Linked DNA regions of Homo sapiens: regions 2 and 3 are each linked to region 1. Evidence: promoter capture Hi-C in 16 types of primary human blood cells and fetal thymus (Javierre and others, 2016). All regions are on one chromosome and are shown on one strand. The core of a region is centred on a gene start or on the middle of the fragment in contact, and the rest is flanking DNA. Distances in the headings are between cores, read along the strand shown. Region 1 has its middle 8.4 kb from the start of SPATA31F3. Region 2 holds the start of SPATA31G1 (SPATA31 subfamily G member 1). Region 3 holds the start of FANCG (FA complementation group G).

Region 1 (3,764 bases), core at 229-2,728:
ATAAAATGTATTATCCTATTAAATATTACTGATAGTTACTACTCAACCAAACAAAATAATTACATTTCCATCTGCCTCAATAATGCATCTAAAAGAAACTCCCATAAAAATGAAATTTTAGTCTGGGCATGATGGTTCATGCCTGTAATCTCAACACTTTGGGAGGATGAGGCAGGAGGATGACTTGAGTCCAGGAGTTCAAGACCAGCCTGGGCAACATAATGGGACCCCATCTCTACAAAAAATTATAAAATTAGCCAGACGTGGTGGCATGCATCTGTAGTCCCAGCTACGCAACTCAGGAGGCTGAGGTGGGAAGACCTTTTGAAACTGGGAGGTCAAGGCTACAGTGAACCATGATCACACCATTGCACTCCAGCCTGGGCGACAGAGTAAGACCCTGTCTCAAAAAAATAAAAATAAATAAATGAAATGAAATTTTAGTCATGATTTCAAAAATGTTTTCAGTAGCTGTATCCTTTTCACCATTTAAAATGTTTCTAAATGTTCTGAAATTTTATTCCTATCTATGACAGATTTCAATTAAGAAAAAGAAAAGAGCTTTCTTGGGGAGGGGAGGTGGTTAATAGGGTGTCAGCAAATCTCTGTGGATAATATTATGAAAAGTCCTCATATAATAGGTGAGTTTGGCCATCTCTGGCGATGAGCTAACCTAGACAATGAACTATAAATAAAGGTCAAAGAATTCAGGAACACAAGGAAGAAAGGGGAATTAACCCTGACTGAGCAGCATTACCCAGTGCCAGGCCTGTTATACGCCTCACCTCATTCAGTGCTTACCACCAGCCAGACCCAGGTATTGTTATCCCACGTTATACAAGAGGAAACTGAATCACCAAGAAGTAAAATAACTAGCCCATCACAGCAACTTAGAGATAGATAAAAAGGTTGATTCTAAACTCCACTAAGGTCCTTGCCACCTCTATTTCATTCAAGTTAAGAGGATATAAATACTCAGAATGATTATAAATAAGCTGTTTGAAATTGCAGACTATTCACATATCCAGTAGTTTTTTAAAAGAAGGACAGTAATAAAATAAATTTTAAGATAGGAGCCCGGGTGGCCAAGGCAGGAGGACACTTGAGGCTAGGAGTTCAAAACCAGCCTGGGCAACACAGCAAGACCCCATCTCTACAAAAAATAAAAAATTAGCTGGGCATGGTGGCATGCTTCTGTAGCCCTAGCTACTCAGGAAGCTGAGGCAGGAGAATCACTTGAGCCCAAGAGGCTGAAGCTGCAGCGAGCTGTGATTGTGCCACTGCATTCCAGCCCAAGCTACAGAGCTAAACCCTATTTCAAAAATAAAATGACATGAAATAAAGTAAATTTTTTAAAAACAGGAACCAAAGAGCAAGGCTGGATCCAAAGGTCTCCAGTGTCATCCTGGTACACACCTAGTTCTTCTCATCAGGTGTGTCCCCCAACTGCAGGAAAGGCATTAGGTTGTCACAGCCCAGTGACACTAGCACCTGAGATTGTTCCACTCATGACCCTTTTGGCAGTATGGCCATTTTCACAATATTGATTCTACCCATCCATGAGATTGATGTGTTTCCATTTGTTTGTGTCATCTATGATTTCTTTCAGCAGTGTTCTGTAGTTTTCCTTGCAGAAGACTTTTGACTCCTTGGTTAGGTATATTCCTAAGTATTTTATTTTTATTTTTTTTCAGCTATTGTAAGGGAGGTTGAGTTCTTGATTTGATTCTCCGCTTGGTCACTGTTGGTGTATAGAAGCGTTACTGATTTGTGTACATTAATCTTGTATCTGGAAACTTTGCTGAATTCTTTTATCAATTCTAGGAGCTTTCTGGAGGAGTCTTTAGGGTTTTTAGGGTAGACGATTATATTGTCAGCAAACAGTGAAGGGTTTTCAAGGTAGACGATCATATTGTCACCAAACAGTGACAGTTTGACTTCCTCTTTACTGATTTGGATGCCCTTTATTTCTTTCTCTTGTCTGATTGCTCTGGCTAGGACTTCCAGTACTATGTTGAAGAGGAGTGGTGAGAGTGGGCATCCTTGTCTTATTCCCCTTCTCAGAGGGAATACTTTCAACCTTTCCCCATTCAGTATTATTTTGGCTGTGGGTTTGTCGTGGATGGCTTTTATTACATTAAGGTATGTCCCTTGTATGCCAATTTCGCTTAGAGTTTTAATCATAAAGGGATGCTGGATTTTGTCGAATGCTTTTTCTGCATCTATTGAGATGATCATGTGACTTTTGTTTTTAATTCTGTTTATGTGATATATCACATTTATTGACTTGCATATGTTAAACCATCCCTGCATCCCTGGTATGCAACCCACTTGAGCATGGTGGATTATCTTTTTGATATGTTCTTGGATTTGGTTAGCTAGTATTTTGTTAAGGATTTTAGCATCTATACTCATCAAGGATATCAGTCTGTAGTTTTCTTTTTTGGTTATGTCCTTTCCTGGTTTTGGTCTTAGAGTGATGCCAGCTTCATAGAATGAATTAGGGAGGGTTCCTTCTTTCTCTGTCTTGTGGAATAGTGTCAAAAGGATTGCTTGTTAGTGGCCTGTTCAGGGTACCTAATTCTTCCTGATTTGAGCTAGGAGGGTTGTATTTTTCCAGGAATTTATTCATCTCTTCTAGGTTTTCTAGTTTATGCACTCACAGCACTGACTGGATTACACATTCATCAGACACTTCTGAGTAGCCTAGAACTTGCAATGTAAATAGACCTAGAAGGAGAGAATGCCCTGACCAGCAGGTGGGAGTAGGCCAGGTTCGTTGGAGTTACATTTATCACTATAAATTAGTAAATTAGCATTCTGATTTATGCTTCAGTCTCTTTTTAGTTTAGTTACAGTGGATCCATCCCAAAGAAACCACTTGGTTCAGAGAACCTTGACAAAATGGAGCCTGCCTATAAAGCTGAAAGCTGGCTCCTGGTTCTGATTCCCCTCGTTAGTCTCCACCCTCCTGACCAGCTGCAGAGGCAGGGAGGGCAATCCTAAACACCAGACTACTGGCATGACCACAACCTGACCTCCTACCAGAGGAGAACAAGCACCCCCATTTCTCATCTAAGCCGCCTTCCTCTCCTGTGCTTTAGTTTTTTCCCTGTTAGCTAAAAGTGGTGTTCATTAAAACCTATTTGTTGAATAAAACACTGTAGGGGATATAAAAGTATGTAGAAGTGAATTCTGATAACTTAAAAGTTACATGCTTTCAGCATAGTGGGAAATAATAGGTATCTATACAATAATACGGTATCTGAGAGTATGTGGTATATAATCTCCTTATAAATATTATATAAAGTTGCTATATAAATCTCCTGTAAAGGGGAGATTATTTTTGGCTGAAGTGATCTGGGAAAGCTTCATGTAGAAGATGGCATTCAAGCTGGTGCTTGAAGCTGAGAGAGGATTTTAATATGTGGAGTTGGAAGAGGGAGTGATCCAAAATGCAGGAATCAACATGCATAAACTGCTGGTGTCTCTGTGTAATGATAACATGCAGAAATAACAGAAGGATTCCTGAAATATTTATTTTACTCTGAGTGCATTTTATTTTGTATATATTTGATCTTAATTAACTGAGTTTTAGATTTTATTTTGTCTTCGTGTGGAAACTGGGGTTGTGGATATCTCCTCATGGGAATGTTTTTCTGTGTCACGTGGACATGAACTGTGGAGATGGGTCTTCAGAACCTGACCATATGTGTTTCTAGGTATAAACGTCTGTGTGGGTGCATTTCTCTACACAGATTTTT
Region 2 (4,214 bases), core at 8-2,507, 140 kb after region 1:
GGTCATTTATAGCCTGACGCATCCACCCTACTGCTGTGTCCGGTTTCCATTGGCTGGAACAGGACCTCGCTTTCTGTATTTGTCCTGATTGGCTAACAACTTAGAACTTTTTAAAAAGAGGCAAAGGCAGAGAACAAAGGAAGGAGGAAGTTAACTTGTGGAATGCTGAGAAAGGTAAAAACACCTTCAAATAAGGAAGAGGAACAGGCTATGACCTAATGCTTGCTTGGACCAATATAAGCATGCCAGGGCAAATATTTAGGCTAAATTGTGGAAGCTAAGAACATAAAGTAAATTGATTTATTACGGCTAGCAGATATTTAAGAATGTTAACAGAGGTCTTTGAATAAATTTTGCTTCTAAGAGATGTTACTATTTATTCCTAATAAGATGGAGAGGAAAGTCTTTGAAGAGGAACCTCTACTTTACTTTTTACATCCTCAAAACAACCCTGTGTAGTAAGTAATAATATTATTGTGCTGGGTAGAGTGGCCCATGCCTGTAATCCCAGCTACTCAGAGGCTGAGATGGAAGGCTCTCTTGAGCTCAGGAGGTCAAGACCAGCCGGGGCAATACAATGAGACCTTGCCTCTAAGAATAATATGCCAGGCAAGATGGTTCACGCCTATAATCCCACCACTTTGGGAGGCCAAGGCGGGAGGATCCCTAGAGCTCAGGAGTCGAGACCAGCCTGGGCAATATAGAGAGATCCTGTCTCTACAAAAATAAAAAATATAAAAATTAGCTGGGCACGGTGGCACATGCCTGTGGTCCCAGCTACTCAGGAGGCTGAGGCAGGAGGAGCACTTCAGCCCAGGAGGTTGAGGCTGCAGTGAGTCGTGATCACACCACTGCACTCCAGCCTGGGTGACACAGTGAGATTCTGTCTCAAAATAATAACAATAAATATCTATAAAATAAAGATAATGATATCTTTATTTTATAGATAAGAAAAATGAGGCACTGAAAAAATTAAGTAGTTTGAGTTTTCACAGGTAGGAAAATGACAGAGCTATGATTTGAATAAGGCAGTTCGGTGCTAGAATCCATGTACTTAACCACAATGCCTGAAGCATAATTCTGAACTGGGCAATCAAAAGGGGATCACCCACATTTCACTGTGTGAAGCATGAATTGCCTGATAGAGGAAATTTTTTTTGGTTCTAAATTCAGGGAGAAGGCTGTTAAGCCCAGGCCTCTGTGGGGGATGGGAGTTCTTTGTTCTGTGATGCAATGATGACCTCAGGGTAAACTGCCAGAAGGCTAAGGGAAATGGAATGGCTGCTGGAGGACCTGCTTGGGGCTAAGGGGGATATGGGGCTTCTCTGGGGCCAACTGACCCATGCCCTAGCCTGCAGACACTGCGGCAGCAGCTGCTTCCAGAGTCCAGGAAATCTGGTGACACTATTCTTATTCGTGGTTTGGCAGATTCAGAGATGGTGGCAGCTTGGGAGGTTGCGACAGCTTCATCCCTGGTGCTCTGGGAATATGGTGCAAGGCAAGGTGGGTGACCTGTGACTGTACAGCTGGATGAATGACTGCTGACACCACATGTGAGGTCATTGGTATGAATGTGGGCCCAGGTGAGTGACTATAAGCCCTAGATGTGAGGCTGGGTGAGTAACCACTGACACTAGATTTGAAGCCAGGTGAGTGACCATGGATTCTAGATGTAGAATGAGGGAATACTGATCTCCAAATGAGGACTGGGTAATGACCATTAACACTAGATGAGGAGCTGTGTAGGTGACTGGCCACACACGTGGGATTAGGTGAGTAACTGTCCACTCTGGATATGGAGCAGACTGAGTGCCTCATAGCAAACCTTGTGTATCTGAAAAGGCTTCATGCCTGAGAATATCTTTATCTACTTCCCAGGAACTACCACTTCTGCACCGTGTGGCCTTCCTTGATCACCTGTGTAAGCAGAAATCAGAAGTGGAGGAAGAAGGGGAAGAAGAGGAAGAGGGGGAAGACGAGGCATCTCTGGATCCACTGAAGCCATGTTCTCCTACCAAAGAAGCTCCCACTGGAGAGCAAGCCACTCCAGCCCCACCCCAGCCATCCTGTGGTTCTGAGGGCCTCCTCAAGGCTATAGGGATACCAGAGCAAACAGTCATGCAGCCCGTGAGCCCTTCCAGATCCTTCCCCATCTTCCAGATTCTGACCAGCTTTCCTGTGAGGCACAAGATAGCATCAGGGAACCGCCAGCAGCAGAGAAAAAGCCAGCTCTTCTGGGGTCTCCCCTCTCTGCACAGCGAGTCCTTGGAGGCCATCTTCCTGAGCTCAGGTGGCCCCTCTCCTCTGAAGTGGTCTGTTTGTTCTTCTGTCTTCTTCAACAAGCTTGCCTTCCTACCTAGGTCCAACCTGTTGCTTCCCCAGTATCACTCCTCAGCCCAGTTTTCTACCCATGGGGCCCATACTATGGAAGATCTAGAAGGGATGGCCCCCGATCCTCAGCTGCTTCCACCTCCATCTTCTCCTTCTGTCTCATCACTACTCCTCCATCTGAGGCCCTTCCCTGTGGACCACAAGGGAGTTTTATCTGGCGCTGAGGCACCCACACAGTCCCCTGGAACTAGCCCCCTGGAAGTTCTCCCTGGATATGAGACTCATTTGGAAACCACAGGACACAAAAAGATGCCCCAAGCTTTTGAGCCTCCGATGCCACCCCCCTGCCAATCCCCAGCTTCTCTGTCAGAACCCAGAAAAGTTAGCCCTGAAGGAGGACTTGCTATATCTAAGGACTTCTGGGGAACCGTGGGATACAGAGAGAAACCTCAGGCCTCTGAGTCTTCAATGCCAGTCCCTTGCCCTCCCCTAGACTCCCTGCCAGAACTCCAGAGAGAGAGTTCCCTGGAAGATCCATCCAGATATAAGCCCCAGTGGGAATGCAGAGAAAACTCAGGAAACCTCTGGGCTTTTGAGTCTCCAGTCTTGGACCTCAACCCAGAGCTCTCTGGAACCAGCCCTGAATGTGTCCCACCAGCATCTGAGACACCATGGAAGGGCATGCAAAGTAGAGAAAATATTTGGGTCCCTGCAGACCCAGTTTCACCTCCCAGCCTTCCCTCAGTCCCTCTCCTGGAGTCTCTAGTAATGGGCCCCCAGGGAGTCCTGTCTGAATCCAAAGCTTTGTGGGAGACCATGGGGCAGAAAGAGAACCTCTGGGCATCTGATTCCCCAGACCCTGTTCATAGCACACCTCCAACCACCCTTATGGAACCACACAGAATCAATCCTGGGGAATGCCTCGCTACATCAGAAGCTACATGGAAGGATACTGAGCATTCCAGGAATTCCTCGGCTTCTAGGTCTCCATCTCTGGCCCTCAGCCCACCCCCAGCTCTTGCACCGGAGCTGCTCAGAGTTAGATCCATGGGGGTCCTGTCTGATTCTGAAGCTAGATGTGGGGACATACAAAAGACAAAAAACTCCTGGGCCTCTAAGCACCCAGCTTGTAACTTACCCCAAGACCTGCATGGAGCCAGCCCTCTGGGAGTCTTGTCTGATTCTCAGTCTATTGTAGGGGAAATGGAGCAAAAAGAAAACTGTGTTCCTGTGTTCCCAGGTAGGGGCTCCAGCCCATCCTCAAACTCTGTTTCAAAGTCCCACGTAAGTGAGCCTATCGCAGACCAAAGCAACTATAAGCCTGACGGGGAGGCAGTGGAGCAAAGAAAGAACCACTGGGCCACTGAGCTCCCAGCCCCCAGCTCACTCTCTACTCCTCTACCAGAGCCACACATTGACCTTGAACTTGTGTGGAGAAATGTGCAACAAAGAGAAGTTCCCCAAGGCCCCAGCCCTCTGGCAGTGGATCCCCTACACCCAGTACCCCAGCCTCCCACCCTAGCTGAAGCTGTGAAGATTGAACGCACTCATCCTGGTCTACCCAAGGGAGTAACGTGCCCAGGGGTTAAGGCAGAGGCCCCACTCTCCCAGAGATGGACTGTCCCAGAGTTGCTCACCCATCCTGGGATCCATGCCTGGCAGTGGAGTAGAGAGCTGAAACTCAGGCTGAAGAAACTGCGGCAGAGCCCTGCCTCCAGAGCCCCTGGCCCAAGTCAATCATTTTGCAGCTCCCCTATTCTGAGCTCCACAATTCCAGACTTCTGGGGACTCCCTTCCTGCCCACCACAGCAGATTTATCCCCCCAATCCATGCCCCCACTCTTCAAGTTGTCATCCTCAAGAAGTTCAGCGCACAGTACCTCA
Region 3 (3,766 bases), core at 1-2,500, 180 kb after region 1:
TGACAGTCAGCTCCAAGGGAAGAACAGGAACAGCTGCAGGGAGCCCTGGAGCAACAATGTTGGTCTTACAGACTGCTCCCCCATGGAAGATCCTCCAAATAAAATCCCAACTCAGAGATCACCCCACTCCAACCAAAACAGCTACAATAAAGAACCCACCCTCCAGCCAATTAGCTAAGGATTTAAAAAAAGAACCCAACCTTTGGACAGAGAGTCTGGAAAGGGCAAAAAAGTTATCCAGATCAGACCATCTTGGAAACCATTTTTCAAATGCCACTCTGTGAGTGTGTAAGGAAGAGAGGGATTTGCCTGTACAAAGATGATTCCACTCCAGTCTCCTCTGTGCCTTAAACAGGACTCCCTGCCCCGAGTAATTATATCGATCCCAAAAACGCAGGAGCGGATGTTTCTCTGGCTATGGAAGAGGGGAACTGACCATCCTGGGGAGGACCCGCCTACCTTGCAGACTATGGAGGAGCCCTCTGAGCCCTTCCAGTGCATCCTGAGCCAACTGCTGTCGCCTCAGAGTCAGACCGGAGTTCTGAGCCACCTGCCACATGAGGGAGGGGTTGTCACTGAGGATCAATCCTTTTTTCTCCCCTTGCAGCAGTGGCAAGGGATGCATTCTCCAGTCATTTCTGGCTCTTTGGTCAAGCTCAGTCCCTCCCCATCGGTTGGGGTAAATCCACTGCAAACCCGCTTTCAGGGATCTTGAGGCTGCAAACCGAGGGTGCCAGCAACCGTGTTACCTTGGCCTGTCGAACGAGCCGGTCATTCTTTTCCCTCCACAGGTCCAGGCAGCTGGAGCCCACAGAGGTGGTCTGGCGGGACATGGTGGCCGAGGCTGGGCCCGGAGACCAGAAGCGGACTTAGGAAGGGTGAAGCTGGCCTGCCCAAGCTCCCAACCCCAGCGGGGAGGGGCCTGGGCACTTCTGCACCCCGCCGAGCTCCCCTGCTTCTCTCGGGGTCCCAATCCACCCGCCCAGGCTTTCCAGGACAGATGGGACGCTCTCTCCCCGCGGCCCGCCGGGCTCTCAACCTCGCCTCTGGTTGGCCGGGTCTGCGAAGCTCTGGGCTGCGGTTGGTCCTCTTGAAGAGTTAGTTCCCGCGGGAAACTCGGGGAGGAAACGAGTCAGCAACCCCAAACAGGCTTAGGCGGGCTAGAAGCCGGGGTCGTGTCTGACTGGGGCAGTCGCACGGCCGGCGGTGCGGCCCGCTCGGCTCTCGCGGAGGCCACAGCCTCGAGAAAGGGTGGGCGGGAGCGAGTTTCGGCCCCACAGTCCGTGGCTCGGCCCTTCCTCGCTGCCACACCCCCAGGTCCTCCTGGGTTCCCGCTTCCACCGAGGGCCGACTGCGAGGTGCATGCTGGGAGTCGTAGTACCGCACCGGGGCGGAACAGCTCCGCCCCGGCGGATGGTGTTTCCAGAAAGCGGTAACTGGAGACGAGGGCGCTCCGTAATCGTCCATCCTTTCTCTGCTCACTGTCGAGCACCAACACGCTCACCAAGGTCGGCTTTCTACCGCGTGTAGTCTGCTGGCAGTGCCGCTCTGTACTTGCACTGCTCAAAAGTACCTGCCCAATCATTTCAAATTAAATGGAGCTAGGAGAATTGAATATCCATATGCAAAAAAAAAAAAAAAAAAAGACAGGAAAGAAAAGAACGCGACCATACATACGTACATAAAATCAACTCAATGGATCACAAACTAAATATAAGAGCCAAAAATATAAAACTTCTAAAAGAAAACGTAAAGCAGCCTAACTAACATGGTGAAACCTTCTCTACAAAAATACAAAAATTAGCAGGGCGTGGTGTCGTGCGCCTGTAATCCCAGCTACCCCGGAGGCTGAGGCGGAAGAATCGCTTGAACCCGGGTGGCGGAGGTTGCAGTGAGCCGACATCGTGCCATTGCACTCCAGCCTGGGTGACAGAGTGAGACTCCGTCTCAAAAAAAAAAAAAAAAGAAAACGTAAGAGAACAGCTTTATGACCTTGGGTTTGGCAACAAGTTGTTAGACACAGCACTAAAAGCTTGTACAATTTAAAAAAAAGTTAACTTTATTAAAATTAAAAACTCTTGTACTACAAAGACATCATTAAGAAGTCATACGCTGGGGCCGGGCGCCGTGGCTCACGCCTGTGATCCCAGCACTTTGGGAGACCGAGGCGGGCGGATCACGAGGTCAGGAGATCGAGACCATCATGGCTAACACGGTGAAACCCCGTCTCTACTAAAAATACAAAAAATTAGCCGGGCGATGTGGCGGGCGCCTGTAGTCCCAGCTACTCGGGAGGCTGAGGCAGGAGAAAGGCGTGAACCCCGCGGGCCAGAGCCTGCAGTGAGCCGAGATCGCCCCACTGCACTCCAGCCTGCGCAACAGCGAGACTCCATCTCAAAAAAAAAAGAAAAGAAAAGAAAAGAAAAGAAGAAAAATCATAGGCTGGATGTGGCTCATGCTGTAATCCCAGCACTTTGGGAGGCTGAGGCTGGAGGATTCCCTGAAGCCAGGAGTTCAAGACCAGCCTAGGCAACAAAGATGGTGTCTTTTGTAGAGACATTATCTCTACAAAAAATTTAAAACATTAACCCTGGCACAATAACACACCTGTAGACCCAGCTACTTGGGAGGCTGAGGTGGGAGGAGCCCTTGAGCCTAGGAGTTCCAGGTTGCAGTGAGCCATGATCACACCACTGCCCTCCAGCCTGAGTAACAGAGTGAGACCCTGCCTCAAAAAAAGAAAGGTCACAGTCACAGAGTGGGAGAAACTACTTGCTAATTATATACCTCATAAGGGACTGGTATCCCTAACACATAAAAACTCCCAAAACTCAAGAAAAAGATTTTTAAAAACAATCTTAGCTGGGTGTGGTGGTTCATGCCTGTTATCCCAGCACTTTGGGAGGCTGAGGTGGGAGGATCATTTGAGCCTCAGAAGTTTAAGACCTGCCTGGGCAACATAGCAAAACCCCACCTCTACAAAAAAAATACAAAAATTAGCTGGGCATGGTGGCACACACCTGTAGTCCCATCTACTCGGGAAACTTAGGTGGGAGGATCACCTGAGCTCAGGGATGTCGAAGCTGCAGTGAGCCATGATTGAGCCACTGCACTCCAGCGTGGGCAACAAAGTGAGACCCTGTCTCAAAACAAAACAAAAAACAATTTTAAGATGGACCAAAAAAAAAAAAAAAGACATTTTACCAAAAAAGATCTACTAATGGCTAAGAAACACATAAAAAGATGCTCGGCATTATTAGCTATTAGAGAAACACAGTTAAAAACATGGCCAGGGCCGGGCCATGTTATGCCTGTAATCCCAGCACTTTGGGAGGCTGAGGTGGATGGATCACTTGAGGTCAGGAGTTCAAGACCAGCATGGCCAACTTGGTGAAACCTCGTCTCTACTAAAAATACAAAAATTAGGCAGGCATGGTGGTGCATGCCTGTAATCCCAGCTACCTGGGAAGCTGAGGTGGGAGAATGGCTTGAACCCGGAAGGTGGAGGTTGCAGTGAGCCGAGATCCTGCCACTGAACTCTAGCCTAGGTGACACAGCGAGACTTCGTCTCAAAAAATAAAAAAACGCTTCACACAGCCGGGCGTGGTGGCTCACACCTTTAATCCCAGCACTTTGGGAGGCTGAGGCAGGTGGATCACTTGAGGCCAGGAGTTTGAGACCAGCCAAGCCAACAGGGCAAAACCCTGTCTCTACTGCAAATACAAAAATTAGCTGGGCATGGTGGCAGACACCTGTAATCCCAGCT

The links. The method cuts DNA at HindIII sites, captures the fragments that hold promoters and counts their contacts. A CHiCAGO score of 5 or more calls a contact.
Region 2: a contact is called between the fragment with the promoter of SPATA31G1 here and a fragment that was not itself captured in region 1, in 2 of 17 cell types (M0 macrophages and M2 macrophages). The highest score is 6.2, in M0 macrophages.
Region 3: the fragment with the promoter of FANCG here is called in contact with a fragment that was not itself captured in region 1 in 3 of 17 cell types (M2 macrophages, neutrophils and naive B cells); the score reaches 6.5 in M2 macrophages.

What each region holds. Positions count from the first base shown.
Region 1 is chr9:34,902,247-34,906,010 of GRCh38, forward strand. It overlaps a transcript of PHF24 not described here. Among named protein-coding and RNA genes, the nearest start is that of SPATA31F3, 8.4 kb to the left of the region's middle. The HindIII fragment of the contact is 3,777 bases long and covers 1-3,367 here.
Region 2 is chr9:35,040,983-35,045,196 of GRCh38, forward strand. It overlaps SPATA31G1 (SPATA31 subfamily G member 1), which reads left to right and starts at 1,258. Exons shown (of 2, transcript NM_203299.4): 1 at 1,258-1,503; 2 at 1,879-4,214. The coding sequence starts at 1,273. The HindIII fragment of the contact is 2,574 bases long and covers 1-2,341 here.
Region 3 is chr9:35,078,692-35,082,457 of GRCh38, forward strand. It overlaps FANCG (FA complementation group G), which reads right to left and starts at 1,251. Exons shown (of 14, transcript NM_004629.2): 1 at 750-1,251; 2 at 460-550; 3 at 1-45. The coding sequence starts at 833. RefSeq lists enhancers at 273-880, 2,097-2,703 and a silencer at 956-1,121. The HindIII fragment of the contact is 2,060 bases long and covers 1-2,030 here.